2 separate regions of the Homo sapiens genome follow, and region 1 is linked to region 2. Evidence: promoter capture Hi-C in human tissues and cell types (Jung and others, 2019). All regions are on one chromosome and are shown on one strand. The core of a region is centred on a gene start or on the middle of the fragment in contact, and the rest is flanking DNA. Distances in the headings are between cores, read along the strand shown. Region 1 overlaps FAM234A (family with sequence similarity 234 member A). Region 2 holds the start of NPRL3 (NPR3 like, GATOR1 complex subunit).

Region 1 (6,709 bases), core at 813-3,312, 110 kb before region 2:
GAGCAAGACTATCTCAAAAAAAAAAAAAAAAAAAAAAGCCACCACCTACTCAGGAGGCTGAGGCAGGAGAACTGCTTGAACCCAGGAGGCAGAGGTTGCGGTGAGCCGAGACTGCACCACTGTGCTCCAGCCTGGGTGAGAGTGAGACCTCGTCACAAAAAAAAAAAAAAATCCACCAATCAAGATAAACTCCAAATGAATTAAAAATGTAAACATTATTATTATTATTATTATTTTTTTGAGACAGAATCTTGCTCTGTCACCTAGGCGGGAGTACAATGGCGTGATCTTGGCTCACTGCAACCTCTGCCTCCTGGGTTCAAGCGATTCTCCTGCCTCAGCCTCCTGAGTGGCTGGGACTATAGGCACCCACCACCACACCCACCACCGCACCCAGCTAATTTTTGTATTTTTAGTAGAGACGGTTTCACCATGATGATCAGGCTGGTCTAGAACTGCTGACCTCGTGATCTGCCCACCTAAGCCTCTCAAAGTGCTGGGATTACAGGCGTGAGCCACTGCGCCTGGCCAAAAATGTAAACATTATTTTTAACAAACATTAAACTAAAAGAAAATAGAAGAGAATGTTTATGTATTGTTAGGGAAAGTCTTGAACGCATGACCCCAAAGGTGGAAATCATTAAGAAAAACACTGATGAACTAAATATATTATGAAATGTCTAACCCAAGCTTGTCCAACCCTCGGCCCAGGATGGCTTGAAGTGTGGCCTAACATAAATTCAGAAACTTTCTTAAAACATTCACAGATTTTTTTGCAATTTTTTTTTTTCAGCTCATCAGCTATCATTAGTGTTAGTGTACTTTATGTGTGGCCCAAGACAATTCTTCCAACGTGGCCCAGGGAAGCCAAAAGATTGTTGTTAGCTCCACAAAACAAACCAGGATAAATATTCTTAGGGTTTTCACAAACCCACAAAAGAAAGGCAAGGACCCCAGTGGGGAAACAGGAAACGAATTCATAACTGGGCAGTTCACTGAAGAGCACACGCCAGTGGCCGGTGCCCAGGGGAAACACACTCAGTCTCACTCATAGACACAGCAGGACCAATGACATTAACAAAAGTTAAGCATTTCATTTTATCTGATCTTGAGACAGGGTCTCACTCTGTGGCCCAGGCTGGAGGGCAGTGGTGATCTAGGCTCACTGCAACCTCCTCCTGCTGGGTTCGAGAGATTCTCCCACCTCAGCCTATAAAGTAGCTGGGACCACAGGTGTGCATCACCGCGCCGGGCAAATTTTTGTATTTTTTGTAGAGACAGAGTTTCGCCACGTTGCCCAGGCTGGTCTCAAACTCCAGGGCCCAAGTGATCTGCCTGCCTCAGCCTCCCAAAGTGTGGGCCACGCCCAGCCTAAAAGTTAAGCATTTTAAAATGTGTTGGTGAGAATATACGATAACAGGTCTGCAGTACAATAGTCGTGGGAATTTGAAATGGTAGTTATTGGTCGAGCGCGATGGCTCATGCCTGTAATCCCAGCACGTTGGGAGGCTGAGGCGGGCAGATCACCTGAGGTCGGGAGTTTGAGACCAGCCTGACCAACATGGAGAAACCCCATCTCTACTAAAAATACAAAAAAAAATTAGCCGGGCGTGGTGGTGCATGCCTGTAATCCCAGCTACTCGGGAGGCTGAGGCAGGAGAATCACTTGAACCTGGGAGGCAGAGGGTGCAGTGGCCAAGATCGTGCCATTCCACTCCAGCCTGGGCAACAAAAGCAAAATTCCGTCTCAAAAAAAAAAAAAAAAAAAAAAAGAGGTTACCATTCAGGGAAGCAGACTTCAGGGTCCAGCCCTGTGCTATTTTTACAACATTTTGTGAATCTATAAGTAGTCCAAAATAAAAAGTATAAAATAGAAAATCAAAAGAGAAAAGAAAACCGTTAGTAAGGGGGAGTGGGGTCAGAGGTTCATGTAAGTTTTAGAGGAAGAACCAGCTTCTCCACAGGCAGCTTGGTTTGTGCCTCAAAGCTACCTTAATATGAAGCTATTTTGTTCCAAAGGCAGGAGTCCTTTTAGTGTTTTGTTTATTTTTGGAAGAATATCAATAGTGGAGTTTTGTGGTAGCCTGAAGAAATACTGAAAGAAGAGCCAAACCCCTGGCATGTTACAATTCTCCATTACAAAATAATCACCAGCTTCCTCAAAACCATCCATTAAAATCATTTTCCGACCGGGCGCGGTGGCTCACGCCTGTAATCCCAGCACTTTGGGAGGCCAAGGCGGGTGGATCACAAGGTCAGGAGATCGAGACCATCCTAGCTAACACGGTGAAACCCCATCTCTACTAAAGATAGAAAAAATTAGCCGGGCGTGGTGGCGGGTGCCTGTAGTCCCAGCTACTCAGGAGGCTGAGGCAGGAGAATGGTGTGAACCTGGGAGGCGGAGGTTGCAGTGAGCCGAGATGGCACCACTGCACTCCAGCCTGGGTGACAGAGCAAGACTCCGACTCAAAAAAAAAAAAAATCATTTTCCTTTCCACTGTGGGGAAAAAACGGATATGCACAGCATTTATAACAATACTCCCCAAATACTTACCTGAGCAAATGCCAGAGTTTAAAAGGGGTCGTCTCCAAAGTCAGACAATGTGGTGACAATGAAAATGCCCCAAGGGGTGGGAACTCTTACTGCTATACAGCCTCTGCACATGCTTTCACACCGGCCTGGCCACAGAAAAGGGGTGTGTGTTTAACACGAATAAGGCCTGTCTTTGGAAAATTAAAAAGCTGGTCAGGAATTCCTTCACAGGATCTCCAGGTAAGACTTCCTTTTTGGAAACTTGACTGAGCCACCAGAAATAGGGGTAGTTATTAAAAGCCACAACGGCAAGGCAGCCAAAGCCAGGCAGTTCATGATTCAACCAGTTTGCAAATAAAGACACCATGAGACAGGTCCAAAGATTTGCTCATCAACAGCAAGAAGATACCAATGTTTTTCTCTACTGCGGTCATTAAAAATACCAGGAGCCGTAGCCAGAGCTTCAGGAACCTGACTGGCAGAGAAAATCCCCATGGACCCAGGTCAGAGAGACTTGAGCAGGGCACTGTCCTTGCTCTACTTTAGCATCCATACCATTGACCACAGAGAGTCAGGCCATGTGGCTATTTAAAAAAACAGAAAACAGAACTCAACAAGCTAATAACCAAAAATTTAACTTCATGGCCGGGCAGGGTGGTTCACGCCTATAATCCTAGTGCTTTGGGAGGCTGAGGCAGGAGGATGACTTGAGGCCAGGTGTTCGAGACCAGTCTGGGCAACATGGGGAGACCCCATCTCTACAAAAAGTAAAATAAAATTAGGTGTAGTGGCATGTGCTTGTAGTCCCAGCTACCTGGGAGGCTGAGGTGGGAGGTTAGCTTGAGCCCAAGAGGTTGAGGCTGCAGTGAGCTGTGATCATTATCACTACATTCCAGTTTGGGCAACAGAGTGAGACCTTGTTTCAAAAAAAAAAAAAAAAGTGAGGGCTCAGAAAGAAAAGAAAATTTGTCAATACAATACGTATTAATTAAGGTAAAAGACCTGACACGGGATGGGCGTGGTAGCTCACGCCTGTAATCCCAGCACTTTGGGAGGCTGAGGTGGGTGGATCGCAAGGTCAGGAGTTCGAGACCAATTTGGCCAACATGGTGAAACTCCATCTCTACTAAAAATACAAAAAATTAACCAGGCGTGGTGATGTGCATCAGTAATCCCAGCTACTCAGGAGGCTGAGGCAGGAGAATCGCTTGAACCCGGGGGGCAGAGGTTGCAGTGAGCTGAGATAGCGCCATTGCACTCCAGCCTGGACGACAGAGCGAGACTCTGTCTCAGAAAAAAAAAAAAAAAAGGAGCTGACACCAAGAATAACTTGAAGAAAGAAAGATAAACACAATACCTCATATATGGTTATTCAAACGGATTATTCCCCTGGCCTACAGAACTATCAGTAAGCCCGCGGTGACTCGTGCCTATAAACCCAGCATTTTGGGAGGCCGAGGTGGACAGATCACTGGAGGACAGGAGTTCAAGACCAGGCTGGCCAACATGGTGAAACCCCGACTCTACTAAAAATACAAAATTAGGTGGGTATGTTGGTGTCTGCCTATAGTCTCAGCTACTGGGAAGGCTGAAGCACGAGAATCACTTCAGCCTGGGAGGTAGGGGATGTGGTGAGCCAAGATCGTACTACTGCACTCCAGCCCGGGTGATAGACCAAGACTCTGTCTCAAAAAAAAGGACTATCGGTAAACCAGCTGTCCACTCTAGGCCACTGAGGCTGCCACACCTATCTGTCCTCCAGGGAGTCCACAGGCTACCCAGTCCTGAGTGGAAACTCTGATTAGGGGGAAGAACAAAACAATCCAGCAGTAGTTTGCACAGCTCATTAACATTTCGGCAGGGGTGGGGCAGGAATACCACAGTCCATGCAGAAAGGAAGTGACAGGTCTCTCCCTTTTCTCCAAGAGTTCTTTCTCTAAGAAGTTTACTGAGTCACAGAGAACAGAAAATAAAAACAAAAGTCTCATTCTAATTGCCTTTTTTTTTTTTTTTTTTGAGACGTTGTCTCGCTCTGTCGCCCAGGCTGGAGTGCAGTGGTGCAATCTTGGCTCACTGCAACCTCCGCCTCCTGGTTTCAAGCCTCAGCCTCCCCAGTAGCTGGGACTACAGGTGCCCGCCACCAAGCCCGGCTAATTTTTTGTATTTTTAGTAGAGATGGGGTTTCACTGTGTTAGCCAGGATGGTCTCGATCTGCTGACCTCGTGATCCGCCCGCCTCGGCCTCCCAAAGTGCTGGGATTACAGGCCTGAGCCACCGCGCCCGGCCTCTAATTTTTTTAATTGCAGAAATTTGATGAAAACTTTTTTTTTTTTGACACAGGGTCTTGCTCTGTTGCCCAGGCTGGAATGAAGTGGTGCAATCATGGCTCACTGCAGCCTTGAATCCCCGGGCTCAAGAGATCCTCCCGCCTCAGGCTCCCCAGTAGCTGGGAGCACAGGCATGCACCAGCTAATTTTTGTTCAGCTAATCTTTAAATTTTTTGTAGAAATGAGAGCCTCACTATGTTGCCCAGGCTCCTCTGTAACTCCTGGGTTCATGTGATCCTCCCACCTCTGCCTCCCGAAGTGCTAGAATGACAGGTGTGAACCACCGTGCCCAGCCTGAAGCAGACAGCTTTTTTTTTTTCTTTCTTTTTGTGTAGACCTCCTCTGCGGTCAAGATAAGTGTTTTAAGGCTAGGCACAGTAGCATACATTTGTAATCCCAGCAACTTCGGGAGGCTACAGCAGGAGGCAGGAAGATCACTCGAGCGCAGGAGTTCGAGACCAGCCTGGGCAACATGACAAAACCCTACCTCCACAAAAAAATACAAAAACTAGCCGGGTATGGTGGTATGTGCCTCTAGTCCCAGCTGTGCGAGAGACTGAGGTTCCCTTGAGCCTGGGAGGTGAGCGGAGATCACACCACTGCATTCCAGTCTAGGCAACAGGGCAAGACCCTGTCTCAAAAAAAAGAGAAGAAAACAGTGTTTTAAATGGATAAAATATTTAGTTAATATTTAGAGGAAAACTATGATTATAGATTAATGTTACTATCTAGTTTCACCAGTTAGAAACAGAAACTGAAAAGATTTTGTCAATGGATTAAAAATAATAAGCCCAGCTGGGTGTGGTAGCTCACAACTGTAATCTCAGCACTTTAGGAGGCCTAGGCGGCTGGATCACTTGAGGTCAGGAGTGCGAGACCAACCTGGCCAACATTGTGAAACCCCATCTCTACTAAAAGTACAAAAATTAGCCGGCGTGGTGGCACGCGCCTGTAGTCCCAGCTACTAGGGAGGCTGAGGCAGGAGTATCGCTTTAACCAAGGAGGCAGAGGTTGCAGTGAGCTGAGATCGCACCATTGTACTCCAGCCTTGGCAACAAGAGCAAGACTCTGTCTCAAAAAAAAAAAAAAAAATACACCCAGATGCAGCGGCTCAAGCCTTAAATAAGTTTGGGGTGACCCCCACTGACCCTGGTTAACCACACTCCACCCCAGAGAACTCAGTATTTTTCTTTCAAAGCACTCATCATACTTCTCTTACCTGGCAGAAAGAAAGCTATTTAAGGCCAGGAAGATGTCTGCTGTGTCCCCTGAGCCAAATGGATGAAAGAGAACTTAAAAGACAAGTAAGATAACTCACAATCAAGATCTGAATTTTCCGACAGACTTCATCATCCATAATCACTAACCAATCTTGTAGCGAGTGTGCCCAAATGCTTGTCCCCAAATCCAGCTGCTATACACACAAATGACTTAAGAAATGTATTTACACAATGTGGCTGTGTCACCACCAAGAACACGCTGGGCATTTGACAGCAATTCAACATGAGCTTCAGAGACACCCACAACAGCCAATGAGGCAGATGTTTCAGCTGAGCAAAGCAGATGTCAGACAAGGACAGCTACTGTGTCCAGTTGTTTACAGCAAGCAGCTATTTCTCTCTCCACCAAGAATAATCTCAAGACAAAGAACAGGCCCATAACCATTTTTCCAGAACCACTTTAAAGATCATGGTTCCATGACAAAGGCAAAAGTATCACAGCACATGCAGTCAGCACTCAAAAGCCCAAACACAAGTTCCTTTCCTTTGCAGAACTGAAAAACTTTTACAGTACTTGAGAAGGGCTCACAATGCCTCCTAAAAATAAGTTGAGGGCGAACAGCTGATAG
Region 2 (6,794 bases), core at 4,183-6,682:
ACAGGGTCTTCTTACTCTGTCCTCCAGGCTAGAGTGCAGTGTGACAATCTTGGCTCACTGCAGGCTCAACTTCCCAAGCTCAGGTGATCCTCCCACCTCAGCCTCCTGAGTAGCTGGGACTATAGGCATGTGCCACTATGCCTGGGTAATATTTGTGTTTTTAGTAGAGATGGCGTTTTGCCATGTTGCCCAGGCTGGCCTCAAACTCCTGAGCTCCAGTGATCCACCCACCTCGGCCTCCTAAAGTGCTTGGGATTACAGGCGTGAGCCACTGCACATGGGCATCATTACATTGGAAAGATAAGGAAACGGAGGCTCCAGGAGGTTATGAAACATGTCTGAGGCTTCCATGGAGCAGGAAACAAGCCCTGATGGTTTGTGTGGGCTGGGAGTCCGGCTGGGGCTGGGGCTTGTCCCTTCCTGTCCCTGGGCCTTGGTTTGAGCCCCAGCCTGTGCAGTGAGTGTGGAATGCTGGTGTCCACTGGTGGTTTCTGGCCTGAATTCCAAGCTCCAGGCACGTTCTGTGCCTGAGCAGCTGAGGCTGAGCTCAAAGGGTGTCTGGCCACTTACAAGCCACTGGACACTCAGCAGAATGCCGGATTGGGCATCTGCAAACTCTCCCATGAGAGTGGACCCTCGGTGACCCTGAACAGGCTAATTTGCCTTGTGAGTCCTAGTTTCACTGTTTTCACCTCTAGGATGGGGATTAGACTAGCCCCCACCTCAGTGTTGGGAGGGCGCTCAGGAACTTGCAGCATGAATTTTAAATTATTTCTATTACTACTGTGTGTGAGTGGTTCTCCCTGGTGGGGCAGCAACACTCAGCTGAGAAGGTGGAGGTGTCCAGGCAAGTCCCAGATAGCGTCTGTGAACCCCACCCGGCCCTCCTGCAGATGGCGGTGGCCCTTTGAGGCCCAGACCAAGTGGCAGGACCGATAAGGCCTCCTATCCTGCCAAGGGCAGGCCCAGGCTGGGAGGAAGGGTCAGGGGTTTCAGTTTCCAAAAATCTACTTACCGTCAAAAAAGCAGGTCATGAAACAGCTATTTAAAGGTAAAATGAGGAGACTTGGAGGTGTGGGGTCTTAGCAGAGAAGAGCCTGAGGATGTCCCCTGTAGCAAATGGAGGTTGGCCCTGGTGCTTCATTGTCCAGGAGACCCTGGGAGAACTTAGAGCTGGGACTCACTCAGGGACCATCTGCTCTGAACCCTGTTACTGGTGGGGAAACTGAGGTCCAAAGCAAGGCCCACTGACCCTCAGGCCAGCGTGTGACAATGATGTCTCATTTCTGTCACAGCCAATGAGGTGCAAACATGGACATGAGGGTGGCGCTGGGATCCAGAGTGCTGCTTCGAGGGCAGGGACGCACCCAGGACCTCTGTGGGCTGGGGTCATGGTGAGCTCCCTGCACTTTCACCAGTTCGAGCTCTCATTATGACTGACGATAGTCAGAAGAATGAACAATGAGTGCCAGGGTTACTGGCAGGAGGCCAACCCTGAGAGGGTAACCGGGGGAACAGTGGGATCCTTTGAGCCCAGAGATGTCCAGTCTGGAGCCCCAAGGTTCTGCCCATTGGGGCAGCAGCACGATTAGGTCAGAAGAGCGAGACCTGAGTCACAGTCCTGCTCCATTCGCATGGTCGCTGTGAGGGTCCCTGTGAGGAGGCCTCCATTACCACCACCGGCCACTGCCCTGGGTTCCCCCACCCCCATCTGTCCCATCTCACCCCTCCAGCCTCAAGCCCTGCTCCTGCAGTCTCATTTCCATCCCAGAGGCACTCCTGGGAAGTGCGGGAGAACTCACAAACCTTTTGATTATACATAAAATCAAAACATGGACAACGGGGATAAAGCCTTGCAAAATGTGTAGCAGAGGTTATGTATTCCTCAGAAAGAACACAGCCAGACCATCCAAGAACAGACCACCTGTAAAGAAAACAAGAAAAGCAATTCTCTGCAAATAATTAAGTGATGCAGCTCTCCCTCTCAATCAAAGAAATGCAACATAGAACAAGACACCATTTTCCTTTCTGGGAATTTCAGGAAAAAAAAAAATGTTATGCAGGCCGGGCACGGTGGCTCACGCCTGTAATCCCAGCACTTTGAGAGGCCGAGGCGGGTGGATCAAGAGGTCAGGAGATCGAGACCATCCTGGCTAACGCGGTGAAACCCCGTCTCTACTAAAAATACAAAAAAATTAGCCGGACGTGGTGGCGGGCGCCTGTAGTCTCAGCTACTGGGGAGGCTGAGGCAGGAGAATGGTGTGAACCTGGGAGGTGGAGCTTGCAGTGAGCTGAGATCGTGCCACTGCACTCCAGCCTGGGCGACAGAGCAAGACTCCATCTCAAAAAAAAAAAAAAAATTAGCCTGGTGTGGTGGCGGGCACCTGTAGTCCCAGCTACTTGGGAGGCTGAGGCAGGAGAATGATGTGAACCTGGTAGGTGGAGCTTGCAGTGAACTGAGATTGTGCCACTGCCCTCCAGCCTGGGTGATAGAGCGAGACTCTGTCTCAAAAAAAAAAAAAAAATGTTATGCAGCCCTGTGCAAGAAAACGCACCTGTTGGTACTGTTGAGCCATTTCAAATGCACGTACCCTTCACCCTGGTGAGGCCAATCCACAAATTTGTTCTGCAAAATACACATTAGTGTCAGTGTTGGTGCAAGAGGGTTACTTGCAACAGTGAAAATGCTCATCCCTCAGTCAAGTGGTTAGGTTCTGATGCATTTGATGTGCTTGGGAAAGTTCTGGAAGCAGCCAAAGAAGCTCATTACCTTTAGTTACCTCCTGGGGAAGCCTGGGATAGGGTAGGTGGGGTGATTTTTTAAAAAACAACTTCATTGAGATATAATTTACCATACCATACCAATTTGCATACCATAAAGCTTATCCACTTCAAGTGTACACTTCCATATCTTTTTTTTGTTTTTGAGATGGAGTCTCGCTCTGTCGCCCAGGCTGGAGTGCAATGGTGCGATCTTGGCTCACTGCAAGCTCCGCCTCCCGGGTTCACACCATTCTCCTGCCTCAGCCTCCTGAGTATCTGGGACTACAGGCGCCCGCACCATGTCCAGCTAATTTTTTGTATTTTTAGTAGACACGGGGTTTCACTGTCTTAGCCAGGATGGTCTCGATCTCCTGACCTCGCGATCCGCCTGCCTTGGCCTCCCAAAGCGCTGGGATTACAGGCATGAGCCACTGCGCCCGGCACTTCCATGTCTTTTAGTGTATTCGCGTTCTCAGAGCTGTCCAACCATTACCACAGTCAACGTTAGAACATTTTCATCACTCCCCTTCAAAAAACCCATGAATCGCTCCATATTTCCCCTGACCCCCTGGAAGCCCTAGGCAGCCACTAATCATTCTGTCTCTATGGATTTGCCTATTCTGGGCATCTTATATAAATGGAATCATATATTAGTGTGTCTTCAAGATGGATTCATGTGCCGTACTTCATTCCTTTTTATGGCTGAATAGTATTCCCTTAAACAAACTATACCATATTCACCCATTCATCAATTGATATACCCTAGGATTGCTTCCACTTTGGGCTATTATGAATAATATTACTAAGAACACACATGTTTTTGTGTGGACATATGCTTTCATTTCTCTTGGCTATATATCTAAAAGGGGGATTTGCCGAGTGTTGTGTTAACTCTAACCTTTCAGGAACTGCCAGCCTGTTTTCCATAGCGAGTGTAGCCTCTTACATTCCCACCAGCAGGAGAGAGATTCCCGTTTCTCCACACCCCTGCTGACGCTTGTCTTTTTGATTACAGCCATCGTAGGAGGTGTGATGTGGCATCTATTTGTAGTTTTGATTTGCATCTCCCTAATGCCTAATAATGTTGAGCATTTTTAATTTCTGTTTTGCCCAGGCTGGTCTGGAGTTCCTGGCCTCTCAGCGCTGGGGTCACAGGCGTAAGCCTCTACCAGTTGAGCTGAGCATCTTCTGGTGCTTATTGGCCATTTGCATAATGCACTGGAAAAATATTCATATCCTTTGTGCATTTTTCAATTGTCTTTTTATTGTTGAGTTGTAAGTTTCCTCCATTCTAGATACAATTCCCTTATCAGATATGTAACTTACAAATATTTTCTCCCGTTCTGTGGGTGGACTTTTAATTTTCTTGATGGTGTCCTTTAAAGCACCGAAGTTTTTGTTTTGTTTTGAGATGGAGTCTCGCTCTGTCGCCAGGCCAGAGTTCAGTGGCACGATCTCGGCTCACTGCAACCTCCGCCTCCCGGCTTCAAGCGATTCTCCTGCCTCAGCCTCCCGAGTAGCTGGGATTAGAAGCAGGCGCCGCCAAACCCAGCTAATTTTTGTATTTTTAGTAGAGAGACGGGGTTTTACCATGTTGGCCAGGATGGTCTAGATCTCCTGATCTCATGATCTGCCCACCTCGGCCTCCCAAAGTGCTGGGATTTCAGGCGTGAGCCACCGCGCCCGGCCGCAGTAAAGTTTTTAATCTGATGAAGTTTAATTTATTCTTCTGTAGTCGCTCCTGCCTTTAGTGTCACTGCCTCGCCCAAGGTCTCAAAGATCTCCTGTCGGCTTCCAAGTGTTTTTTTTTTTTTTTTTTTTTTTTGAGACGGAGTCTCGCTCTGTCGCCTAGGCTGTAGTGCAGTGGCGCAATCTCGGCTCACCGCAAGCTCCGCCTCCCGGGTTCAAGCGATTTTCCTGTCTCAGCCTCCCGAGTAGCTGGGATTACAGGCGCCCGCCACCACGCCCGGCTAATTTTTTTTTTTTTTTTTGTAGAGACGGGGTTTCACCATGTTGGCCAGGATGGTCTCGAACTCCTGACCTCGTGATTCACCCGCCTCGGCCTCCCAAAGTGCTGGGATTACAGGCGTGAGCCACCGCGCCCGGCCTTTTTTTTTTCTTTTTTCTTTCTTTCTTTCTTTTTTTTTTTTTTGATACGGGGTCTCGTCGCTCTGTCGCCCAGGGTGGAGTGCAATGGCGTGATCTTGGCTCAATGCAACCTCCGCCTCCCGGGTTCAAGCGATTCTCCTCTAGGATTACGGGCGCCTGCCACCACGCCCGGATAATTTCTTCTAATTTTTAGTAGAGATGGGGTTTCACTATGTTAGCTAGGATGGTCTCGATCTCCTGACCTCGTGATCCGCCCGCCTCGGCCTCCCAAAATGCTGGGATTACAGGCGTGAGCCACCGCGCCCCGCCCAAGTGTTATTTGTAAAACGAAGAAACCAACATCGAGAGGGACGCTGACTCGACCCCGCGCCTTTCCCATCCGCACCAGCAAGAGGGGCCCCTGTGCCCCAAACGCGAACCGTACGGCTCCAGACAGCACCGCGGAACTCGGTGGCTTCCAGAAGGCCCCGCGCCTGCGCATTCCGCTGCCTGCGCCTGCGCCTGCGCCTGCGCCGTTCTCCCGGCCGCCGCCTTAGCACCTCCTCCGGACGGTGTCGCCGAAGTCTCGCGAGCCCGGAGCGTGGCACGTGGGTTGGTAACTGTGGCGCTGCTCCGCGTCCACCACCACCCCTGTCCTCCTCAGGCCCCCTCCGCCTCCACCCCTGCCCTCCTCAGGCCCCCTCCGCCTCCACCCCTGCCCTACTCAGGCCCCCTCCGCCTCCACCCCTGCCCTCCTCAGGCCCCCTCCGCCTCCACCCCTGCCCTCCTCAGGCCCCCTCCGCCTCCACCCCTGCCCTCCTCAGGCCCCCTCCGCCTCCACCCCTGCCCTCCTCAGGCCCCCTGCGTCCCCGCCTCGTCCTCCTCAGGCCCCCTCCGCCTCCGGCTCCGTCCTCCTCAGGCCCCCTCCGCCTCCGGCTCCGTCCTCCTCTGGCCCCCTCCGCCCCCGGCCCCGGCCCCACGGCGGGATGCGGGACAACACCAGCCCCATCAGCGTGATTCTGGTGAGCTCGGGGAGCAGGGGCAATAAGCTGCTGTTCAGGTACCCCTTCCAGAGAAGCCAGGAGCACCCGGCGTCCCAGACAAGTAAGTGAGCGCTGGGCGGGGGCCTGGCGCTCGCGGGGGCCGCCTCATTCCGGGGTCGCCTCATTCCAGGGCCGCCTCGCGGAGCTTAGCTTTTGCTGGGCATTCGAGATCTGCTCGTTGTAGAGTATTTGAAAAGTAGAAAAAGGAAAAAAAAAATTAAAATCATGCATTGTTCACCACACCAAAGCAACTACTGCTGACATTTCATCAGTCTCCAGCCTTTAAAAAATAAAGTAAAATAAAATAAAATGAGTTTGGGATGTATTCATCATGAGAAAATACAAAATTACACGAACAAGGCCGGTGGCGGTAATCCCAGCACTTTGGGAGGCCGAGGCGGGTGGATCACCTGAGGTCAGGAGTTCGAGACCAGCCTGGCCAACATGGTTGAAACTCTGTCTCTACTGAAAAAATAAAAATAAAAAAAAACAAATTAGCCGAGCGTGGTGGTGCGTGCCCATAATCCTAGCTACTTGGGAGGCTGAGGCAGGAGAATTGCTTGAACCCGGGAGGCGGAGGTTTCAGTGAACCGAGATCGCGCCACTGGATTCCAGCCTGGGCAACAGAGCAAGACTCCGTCTCAAAAAAAAAAAAAAAAGTTACGTGAACATCTGAAGTTGTCTTTGCCACCCCCAGTTCTAGCAAGCACAGGGATCACCCCTGGCCGTGTTGGGAGTTGTCTGCCCTGTGCATAGATGCAGATCTATCCACAGGAAAAGGGAACGTCGCGTGAGGTTTTTCATCGCACGAATTGTTCTGTGGCGCCCTTTTCCCATAGTCGGCCTTGGAGCTCCGTCTGCCTTTGCAAGCAGGGATCAACCTCACCCTTGGCTGCAGGC

Evidence for each region. Contacts are between HindIII fragments. The study calls those that stand out against the background at their distance.
Region 1: a fragment that was not itself captured here is called in contact with the fragment with the promoter of NPRL3 in region 2 in 3 of the 25 tissues and cell types used here (bladder, dorsolateral prefrontal cortex and lymphoblastoid cells).

Annotation. Positions count from the first base shown.
Region 1 is chr16:239,746-246,454 of GRCh38, reverse strand. The region is part of intron 1 of FAM234A (family with sequence similarity 234 member A); the gene reads right to left. Among named protein-coding and RNA genes, the nearest start is that of FAM234A, 8.3 kb to the right of the region's middle. The HindIII fragment of the contact is 7,678 bases long and covers 1-5,901 here.
Region 2 is chr16:137,311-144,104 of GRCh38, reverse strand. It overlaps NPRL3 (NPR3 like, GATOR1 complex subunit), which reads left to right and starts at 5,432. Exons shown (of 14, transcript NM_001077350.3): 1 at 5,432-5,463; 2 at 5,771-5,955. The coding sequence starts at 5,838. RefSeq lists a cis regulatory region at 632-1,150, an enhancer at 5,503-5,552 and a silencer at 5,773-6,002. The HindIII fragment of the contact is 17,392 bases long and covers 1,325-6,794 here.